Linked DNA regions of Homo sapiens: region 2 is linked to region 1. The links are contacts of gene promoters, found by promoter capture Hi-C in blood cells and fetal thymus (Javierre and others, 2016). All regions are on one chromosome and are shown on one strand. Each heading gives the region's core, a stretch centred on a gene start or on the middle of the fragment in contact. The rest is flanking DNA. Distances are from core to core; before and after follow the strand shown. Region 1 holds the start of SEPTIN12 (septin 12). Region 2 overlaps HMOX2 (heme oxygenase 2).

What was found. Contacts are between HindIII fragments. The CHiCAGO score rates a contact against its expected background, and 5 or more counts as called.
Region 2: a fragment that was not itself captured here is called in contact with the fragment with the promoter of SEPTIN12 in region 1 in 4 of 17 cell types (naive CD8 T cells, fetal thymus, naive B cells and 1 more); the score reaches 6.7 in naive CD8 T cells.

What each region holds. Positions count from the first base shown.
Region 1 is chr16:4,786,009-4,790,161 of GRCh38, forward strand. SEPTIN12 (septin 12) reads right to left here and starts at 2,337. Exons shown (of 10, transcript NM_144605.5): 1 at 2,272-2,337; 2 at 1,472-1,659; 3 at 1-97. The coding sequence starts at 1,637. It also overlaps a transcript of SMIM22 not described here. The HindIII fragment of the contact is 19,587 bases long and covers 1-3,224 here.
Region 2 is chr16:4,506,169-4,510,321 of GRCh38, forward strand. It overlaps HMOX2 (heme oxygenase 2), which reads left to right. Exons shown (of 6, transcript NM_002134.4): 3 at 727-844; 4 at 1,545-2,036; 5 at 3,244-3,370; 6 at 3,461-4,153. The coding sequence ends at 3,588. Among named protein-coding and RNA genes, the nearest start is that of CDIP1, 31 kb to the right of the region's middle. The HindIII fragment of the contact is 1,078 bases long and covers 1,395-2,472 here.

The DNA.
Region 1 (4,153 bases), core at 1,087-3,586:
TGGGGTGTGGGCACCCCCAAGCCCGGTGGGTTTGACTTCCACACTTTGGACTTGAACAGCGTGTTCACCATCGTGGACTTGCCCAGCCCGCTTTGCCCTGGGAGTGGCAACCGGATGACAGCAGTTAGGGTGGGCGTTTTAGGCAGTTTTTCTCTAACTCTTTACTTTTCTATTTTATTTTTGGAGACAGGTTCTCACTCTGTCACCCAGGCTGGAGTGCAATGATGCAATCCCCGTTCACTGCAGCCTCGACCTTCCCAGACTCTAGTGATTCTCGCACCTCGGCCTCCCTAGTAGCTGGGACTGTAGGCACACGCCACCATACCCAGCTGATTTTTGCACTGCTTTTTTTTTTTTTTTTTTTGAGACGCAGTCTCGCTCTGTCACCCAGGCTGGAGCGCGATGGTGGGATCTCGGTTCACTGCAAGCTCCGCCTCCCAGATTCACGCCATTCCCCTGTCTCAGCCTCCCAAGTAGCTGGGACTACAGGCGCCCGCCACCACGCCTGGCTAATTTTTTTGTATTTTTAGTAGAGACGGGGTTTCACCATGTTAGCCAGGATGGTCTTGATTTCCTGACCTCATGATCCGCCTGCCTCAGCCTCCCAAAGTGCTGGGATTACAGGCGTGAGCCACCACACCCGGCCTTGCACTGTTTTTTAATTTTTAAGACAGGGTCTCAATCTGTCACCCAGACTCAAGTGATCGCAGCTCACTGCAACCTCCACCCTCAGGTTCAAACGATCCTCCCACCTCAGCCCCCCAAGTAGCTGGGATTCAGGTGCATGTCACCATGCCTGGCTAATTTTTAAATTTTTTTTGTAGAGATGGGGTCTTGCTGTGTTGCCTAGGCTGGTCATGAACTCCTGGCCTCCAGGGATCCTTCTGCTTCAGTCTTGCTCTGTCACCCAGGCTGGAGTACAGTGGCGCAATCTCGGCTCACTACAACATCTGCCTCCCAGGTTCAAGCAATTCTCCTGCCTTAGCCTCCTAAGTAGCTCCTAAGTACAGGCGCCCACCACCACGCCTGGCAAATTTTTGTATTTTTAGTAGAGACGGAGTTTCCCCATGTTGGCCAGGCTGTTTTCGAACTCCTGACCTCAAGTGACCCTCCTGCCTTGGCCTTTCAAAGTGCTGGAATTACAGGCTTGAGCCACCATGCCCGGCCTCATTTTTGTACTTTTTGTAGACATTAGGTTTTGCTAGTCTCAAACTCCTGAGCTCAAGTGATCCACCCACCTCAGTCTCCCAAAACCCTGGATTATAGGTGTGAGCCACCGCTCCAGGCACATTTTTGTCTTTTAATGACTCAGCATTTCTCAAATTTTCAATGACAACATCCCTGTGAGGTGCTATTATCAGGCCCACCTAAGAGATGGGGAGGGGCGACAGGCTGCCAAAGGTGAGGCCACACGCCCAGGCACGCGTAGCACTGTGGGTCTGTCCTGCCGTGGGCCCTACCTCTCACTCACCCACCACCATGATGTTGAACTCAAACCCCATCTTCATAGCCTTGATCTTCAGCTGGTCCAGCACAGCCTCAATGCCCACAGGACCAAGCATCTCGCAGGGTGGGGTGCTGGGGCTGGAGGGCTGCGAGGACAGGCAGGGAGAGGGGGAGCGCCTCAGGGGGTCCATGGGGGCCAAGGGTTCGAGATGCCTGTCACCAGGTGGGTGGGGAGAAGGGGGTCACTGGGGCTCAGAGGAGCCCACATTGACCTCTCCTATCTGAACCCCTATTTGAGCTTGGCCGTTGGCCAACCCCCTCCACACTTCATGCCTCTGGTGTACCCTAAGTGCCTGTAGTCCCAGGGGTGTGGCAAGGGTGCCTGTGGGGAGCTGTTTCTGCAGGGTGCCTCAACACCCATCCAGAGAGGCTCCGCTGCCCAAGGGTCTGCCCTGTCCCCACCTACAGCCCAGGCAGGGGCCTCTCAGGTCGCTTCCCCCAGCAGAGCCTGGAGGGCCAGGCAAAGTCCAGGATGGGTGTTTGCAGCCAGGCTGGAGTCCTGGAGGGGCTTCAGGGAGTGTGTATGGGGTGAAGTGGCTCCCGTCCCAGCAGGAAACTTGGGCAGGGGGCTCAGGAGGAGGTGCCCCCACTTTCCCCAGGGGGACACACAGCAGAGTTGATAGAGAGCGAGAAAGACGGCACAGGCATGAAGGTGACGGAGACAGAGAGAGAGAGACCAAGGTCAGGCAGGGAAGATGGCTGGGAGGGAGCGGTGCGAAGAGCCCACGGGGGGCAGAGAGAGAGAGAAGCAGCCTGCTGTGACACCTGGTGGACGTGGGTCCTGGTGGAGCTTCCAGGAGCTGCCTTGTCCTGGCAGGGCCTGGTGTGTGTGATGGGGGAGGGGAGAGGGTGACAGTTAACCGAAGAATCTGAGCTCCATCTGCACTTGCTGTGACCCCCACCTGGAGGCTTCTCTGCAGCAGGAGCAGGAGCTGTTACCCTTCTAATCCCCACAATGACCCCAGCCTAATAATACAATAATCCCCAAGTAGAACCAGGGGCCCAAGGCCCCCTCGTCAGCTGGGCTCCCACCTCCAAGCTGACGCCCTCAACCACTCTGCTGGGGTGAGCAAACCCAGGCCCCACAGCTGGCTAGCGGGATATCCGTGTCCACGATTGGCGCCATGTGTTTTAAGTTGCAGCGTCAAAAACATGAAGAGATTGCTTTAGCAAATATTTACCCAGTCCTGACTCTGCACATGGCATCGTTCTAGGAGCCCAAAGATGTTAACTTGTTTAATAATCAAGCCCTGTGAAGTAAGTGCTGTTACTACCCCAAGCTGATAGATAAGAGAGGGTCAGGTGAGGAGGTGGCAGAGTCTCTGCCGCTCTGAGTCTGTGTGCTCACCCTCTACTGCCTTTTTCTGGTTTACAGAAACATCTAGATTTCCGGTGTATCTTAGAGGTTATCACCCTGACTTGAGATGCCCTCTTTAAATAGGCCATGTGCTTTCCAGACTGTGGTCCTCACCCCTGCCTTACTGTCTCTCTGATAAGCTGTTTCTTTTTTTGTTGTTTGTTTTTGAGACAGCCTCGCTCTGTTGCCCTTGCTGGAATGCAGTGGCGCGATCTCGGCTCACTGCAACCTCCGCCTCCTGGGTTCAAGCAATTCTCTTGCCTCAGCCTCCCAAGTAGCTGGATTACCGGTGTGCACCACCACGCTAATTTTGTATTTTTAGTAGAGAAGGGGTTTCACCACATTGGTCAGGCTAGTCACAAGCTTCTGACCTCAAGTGATCCACCAACCCTGGTCTCCCAAAGTGTTGGGATTAGTGAGCCACCATGCCTGGCCTTTTTTTTTCTTTTTTCCTTTTTTTCTTTTTTTTTTTGAGACGGAGTCTCGCTCTGTCACCCAGGCTGGAGTTTAGTGGCATGATCTCGGCTCACTGTAAGCTCTGCCTCCCGGGTTCACGCCGCTCTCCTGCCTCAGCCTCCCGAGTAGCTGGGACTACAGGCGCCTGCCACCACGCCCGGCTAATTTTTTCCTATTTTTAGTAGAGACTGGTTTTCCCTGTGTTAGCCAGGATGGTCTCGATCTCCTGATCTCGTGATCTGCCCTCCTCGGCCTCCCAAAGTGCTGGGATTACAGGCGTTAGCCCCTGCGCCCAGCCCTTTTTAAAATTTTTTTGAGACACGGTCTCACTATGTTGCCCATGCTGGTCTCAAACTCCTGGGTTCTAGTGATCCTCTCACCTCAGCCTCCCTAAATGCTGAGATTACAGACGTGAACCACCATGCCCAGCCTGATAAGCTGTTTCTTATACCAAGTCCATCTCACACAGTTAATTCTTTCTTGTTTCCTGGTACTTGACTTCACAAGGCTTAGGCATTCCTGTGTCCTTGCTATTGGCAAATGTTTTCTCTTTCTTTTTTCTTTCTTTTCTCCTTTCTTTTCTTTCTTTTTTTTTTTTCTTTTTTGGGACAGGGTCTCACTTTGTCACCCAAGTTGGAGTGCAGAGGCACAATGACAGCTCACTGCAGCCTCGACTTCCTGGGTTCAAGTGATCCTCCTGCCCCAGCCTCCCTAGTAGCTGGGACTTCAGGTACGTAGACCATGCTGGGCTAATTTTTTTACTTTTTGTAGAGATGAGGTCTCCCTATGTTGCCCAAGATTGTCTTGAACTCCTGGGGTCAAGGGGTCCAGCTG
Region 2 (4,153 bases), core at 684-3,183, 280 kb before region 1:
CAGACCATGATAAGGCCAAATTTTTCTCACTCTTGTAGATGGATTGTGTGGACACATGTAAGCCCCTGCCCAAGTACCACCATCTTTAGGATCACATGTTTTCTACCTTGTCCATCCATCCACACACCTTTACAACTGTGTAATTTCGTTAAGCAGCACAAACCCAGCGTCCTGGCCCTAGCCTCTCGGTTGTCTCCTTTGCATCCTTCCGTGCTTGGTCCTAGTCACATATAGTCTCAAAGAAGCTGTGGGTCCAAGGTGGGAGGAAGGCAGTAGGGCCATCTGAGGAGACCCATGGTCACAGCCTTACTGAGGTGTGTGAATTCCAGAAGACACGTTCCAAGGCAGGCTGTTCTTAGAGAAGCCAGCAAATACTGAAGGGAATACAGATGTGTGTCTCTTCGACCACTAGGTGGCCACAGAAGCAAAGCATTGCTCATTTGGGTGGTTCCCAACACAGACACATGGACGTGGGTACTACTCTCAAGGAGCAGGCCACAGTTATCCCTTGTGTCCTGAGTCCTTGGAGCAGAATGTCATGTCTGCTTGTCCTGTGTTCCCTGACAAGTTGCTGCTATTTGTGTTGGAGTGAAGTGTCTGAGAAGCCCCAGCCTCCAGTACAACAGGTGGTCACCTTGGGGTGTGGACTCAATCTTCTCTCTATGGTCCTTTCTGGAAAGCTGGGAAGGGCTAATTGACACACAAACACCTCCCATCTCTCCACAGAATGGCTGACCTCTCGGAGCTCCTGAAGGAAGGGACCAAGGAAGCACACGACCGGGCAGAAAACACCCAGTTTGTCAAGGACTTCTTGAAAGGCAACATTAAGAAGGAGCTGTTTAAGGTTTGTGCCCCGCATTGGGTTCCAGACTGTCATATGGGGTTGGGGTGGGGGCCTTGGTCCCATGAGAAAAGTGCCCCTGGAGCCACTCTGAGGGAAAAGCTGGGCTTTTCTCCACACTCCATTCCTTCTTGACGTTAAGCTCTGGCTCTCGGCTGGGTACAGTGGCTCATGTCTGTAATCCCAGCACTTTGGGAGGCCGAGGCAGGTGGATCACTTGAGGCCAGGAGTTTGAGACCAGCCTGGCCAACATGGTGAAACCCTGTCTCTACTAAGAATACAAAAATTAGCCGGGTGTGGTGGCGCGTGCCTGTACTCCCAGCTACTTGGGAGGCTGAGGTGGGAGAGTCACTTGAACCTGGGAGGCGGAGGTTACAGTGAGCCGAGATCGTCCCACTGTACTCCAGCCTGGGTGACAGAGCGAGACTCTTTACCCCGCCAAAAAAAAAAAAAATTGGTTCTCATGGCTTAGATAGAATAACATAGTGGTGTGAAGGAAGCAAAAGTATGCGTGTTCCAAAGACTTCACCATGCCATTCCTTTAAGAAACAAAAGCTTCCTTGTGTGTTAAATAATTCACTACATAAAAATGGACCATAGGATTGGGTCTTTGGGGTTGGGGGTTGTCACTTGAGCCTCTGCATCCAGCTGCTCGGATGTGGTGTGCTCAGGCATAGCTGGCCTCCTCCTGTCACCTCCACAGCTGGCCACCACGGCACTTTACTTCACATACTCAGCCCTCGAGGAGGAAATGGAGCGCAACAAGGACCATCCAGCCTTTGCCCCTTTGTACTTCCCCATGGAGCTGCACCGGAAGGAGGCGCTGACCAAGGACATGGAGTATTTCTTTGGTGAAAACTGGGAGGAGCAGGTGCAGTGCCCCAAGGCTGCCCAGAAGTACGTGGAGCGGATCCACTACATAGGGCAGAACGAGCCGGAGCTACTGGTGGCCCATGCATACACCCGCTACATGGGGGATCTCTCGGGGGGCCAGGTGCTGAAGAAGGTGGCCCAGCGAGCACTGAAACTCCCCAGCACAGGGGAAGGGACCCAGTTCTACCTGTTTGAGAATGTGGACAATGCCCAGCAGTTCAAGCAGCTCTACCGGGCCAGGATGAACGCCCTGGACCTGAACATGAAGACCAAAGAGAGGATCGTGGAGGAGGCCAACAAGGCTTTTGAGTATAACATGCAGGTACTATTGGGGGCTGCCAGCTGCTAGGGCTGAAGAGGGAAACTTTGACAGTGGTAGCAGATCCATAGTGGCCCATGAAGGCACACATGGCATTAGGACAGATGAGCTGCAGGGTGCCGAGAGGAAGGTGGCCACCAGATTGGCCACCAGAGCTTGTGGGCCCAGTGGGTGGTTCCCAGCATGGAGGCCTGGTGTGATAGATGCCAGTGGGTAGTGTTTTGGGAAGGGTGAGTCCTCTCGCACATAGAGGGGTCTGGAAGAATGGAGCTGGCTTCCTCCCTCATTGCAGGATGCTGGTCTTGAAGAATGGTTAATTTTCTTTTCAAGTTTTGCTCTGAGAAGCCCTGCTTTATAAGTTAATAGAGAGCCAGTGCCACCAAGGAGAGTAAATAAGCTCTGTTTACAAGTAGCCTTTAGATGAGGCTGAACCTGGGGAAGCTTACTCTGTCCCCAGGTCCTGTCAGCTTCCACTGAGGCCTCCCAGGGCACTCAGGATGAGTATGCCCTGCCACAGTCTCATTCTCCCATGTTCCAGGTTTTCTGTTGCTTCTTGATAAAAAAATAACCAGCACCTAGAAATGGGGATGTACTCATGCCCTCCTGTCTGTGCTGTGGTAGTTTCAGTGGCTTGAGCCACCTCAGAGAAGGCTACATCTCTGGTCAGTTCCCAGGGGAGACCCAGCATTTGGCAGCCTTCTTGGGGTACCAATATCCACACCTCCCCAGAGCTCTTGCTAGGGAGGGAAGACCATCAGGCAGTGCAGCTGCCGCCCACCAGTGCTGCTTGCTGTGTAGTTGGCACACCTGAGCAAGCTCACCTGCTCCAGCTCACTCTCTCTGGAGGGCGTCCTCTAAAAGGAGAGTGTAGCCAGGCGCAGTAGCTCATGCCTGTAATCCCAGCACTTTGGGAGGCTGAGGCAGGGGCATTACTTGACCCCAGGAGTTGAAGACCAGCCTGGGCAACCAAGGTGAGACACCATCTCCCCACAAAATTTAAAAATTAGCCAGGTATGGTGGTACACACACGTAGGAGGATAAGGTGGGAGGACCACTTGAGCCTAGGAGTTTGAGGCTGCAGTGAGTTAGCCATGTTCATAACACTGCACTCTAGCCTGGGCAACAGAGACCTCATCTCAAAAGACATTTAAAAAAAAAAAAAAAGTATGGGCAGCCCAAAGATGGCTCAGTCGATCCTCTGCTCCTGCAGATATTCAATGAACTGGACCAGGCCGGCTCCACACTGGCCAGAGAGACCTTGGAGGATGGGTTCCCTGTACACGATGGGAAAGGAGACATGCGTAAATGCCCTTTCTACGCTGCTGAACAAGACAAAGGTAGGTCTGTGTGTCCTGAGCTCCCCTCCTGGGGCAGGTGTAGCAGGAGACTCCACTGATGCCATGTCTCCTATTGGTGCTGCCACACAGGTGCCCTGGAGGGCAGCAGCTGTCCCTTCCGAACAGCTATGGCTGTGCTGAGGAAGCCCAGCCTCCAGTTCATCCTGGCCGCTGGTGTGGCCCTAGCTGCTGGACTCTTGGCCTGGTACTACATGTGAAGCACCCATCATGCCACACCGGTACCCTCCTCCCGACTGACCACTGGCCTACCCCTTTCTCCAGCCCTGACTAAACTACCACCTCAGGTGACTTTTTAAAAAATGCTGGGTTTAAGAAAGGCAACCAATAAAAGCCAGATGCTAGAGCCTCTGCCTGACAGCATCCTCTCTATGGGCCATATTCCGCACTGGGCACAGGCCGTCACCCTGGGAGCAGTCGGCACAGTGCAGCAAGCCTGGCCCCCGACCCAGCTCTACTCCAGGCTTCCACACTTCTGGGCCCTAGGCTGCTTCCGGTAGTCCCTGTTTTTGCAGTACATGGGTGACTATCTCCCCTGTTGGAGGTGAGTGGCCTGTAAGTCCAAGCTGTGCGAGGGGGCCTTGCTGGATGCTGCTGTACAACTTCTGGGCCTCTCTTGGACCCTGGGAGTGAGGGTGGGTGTGGGTGGAAGCCTCAGAGGCCTTGGGAGCTCATCCCTCTCACCCAGAATCCCTCTAACCCCTTGGGTGCGGTTTGCTCAGCCCCAGCTTATCTCCTCCTCCGCGCTGTGTAAATGCTCCAGCA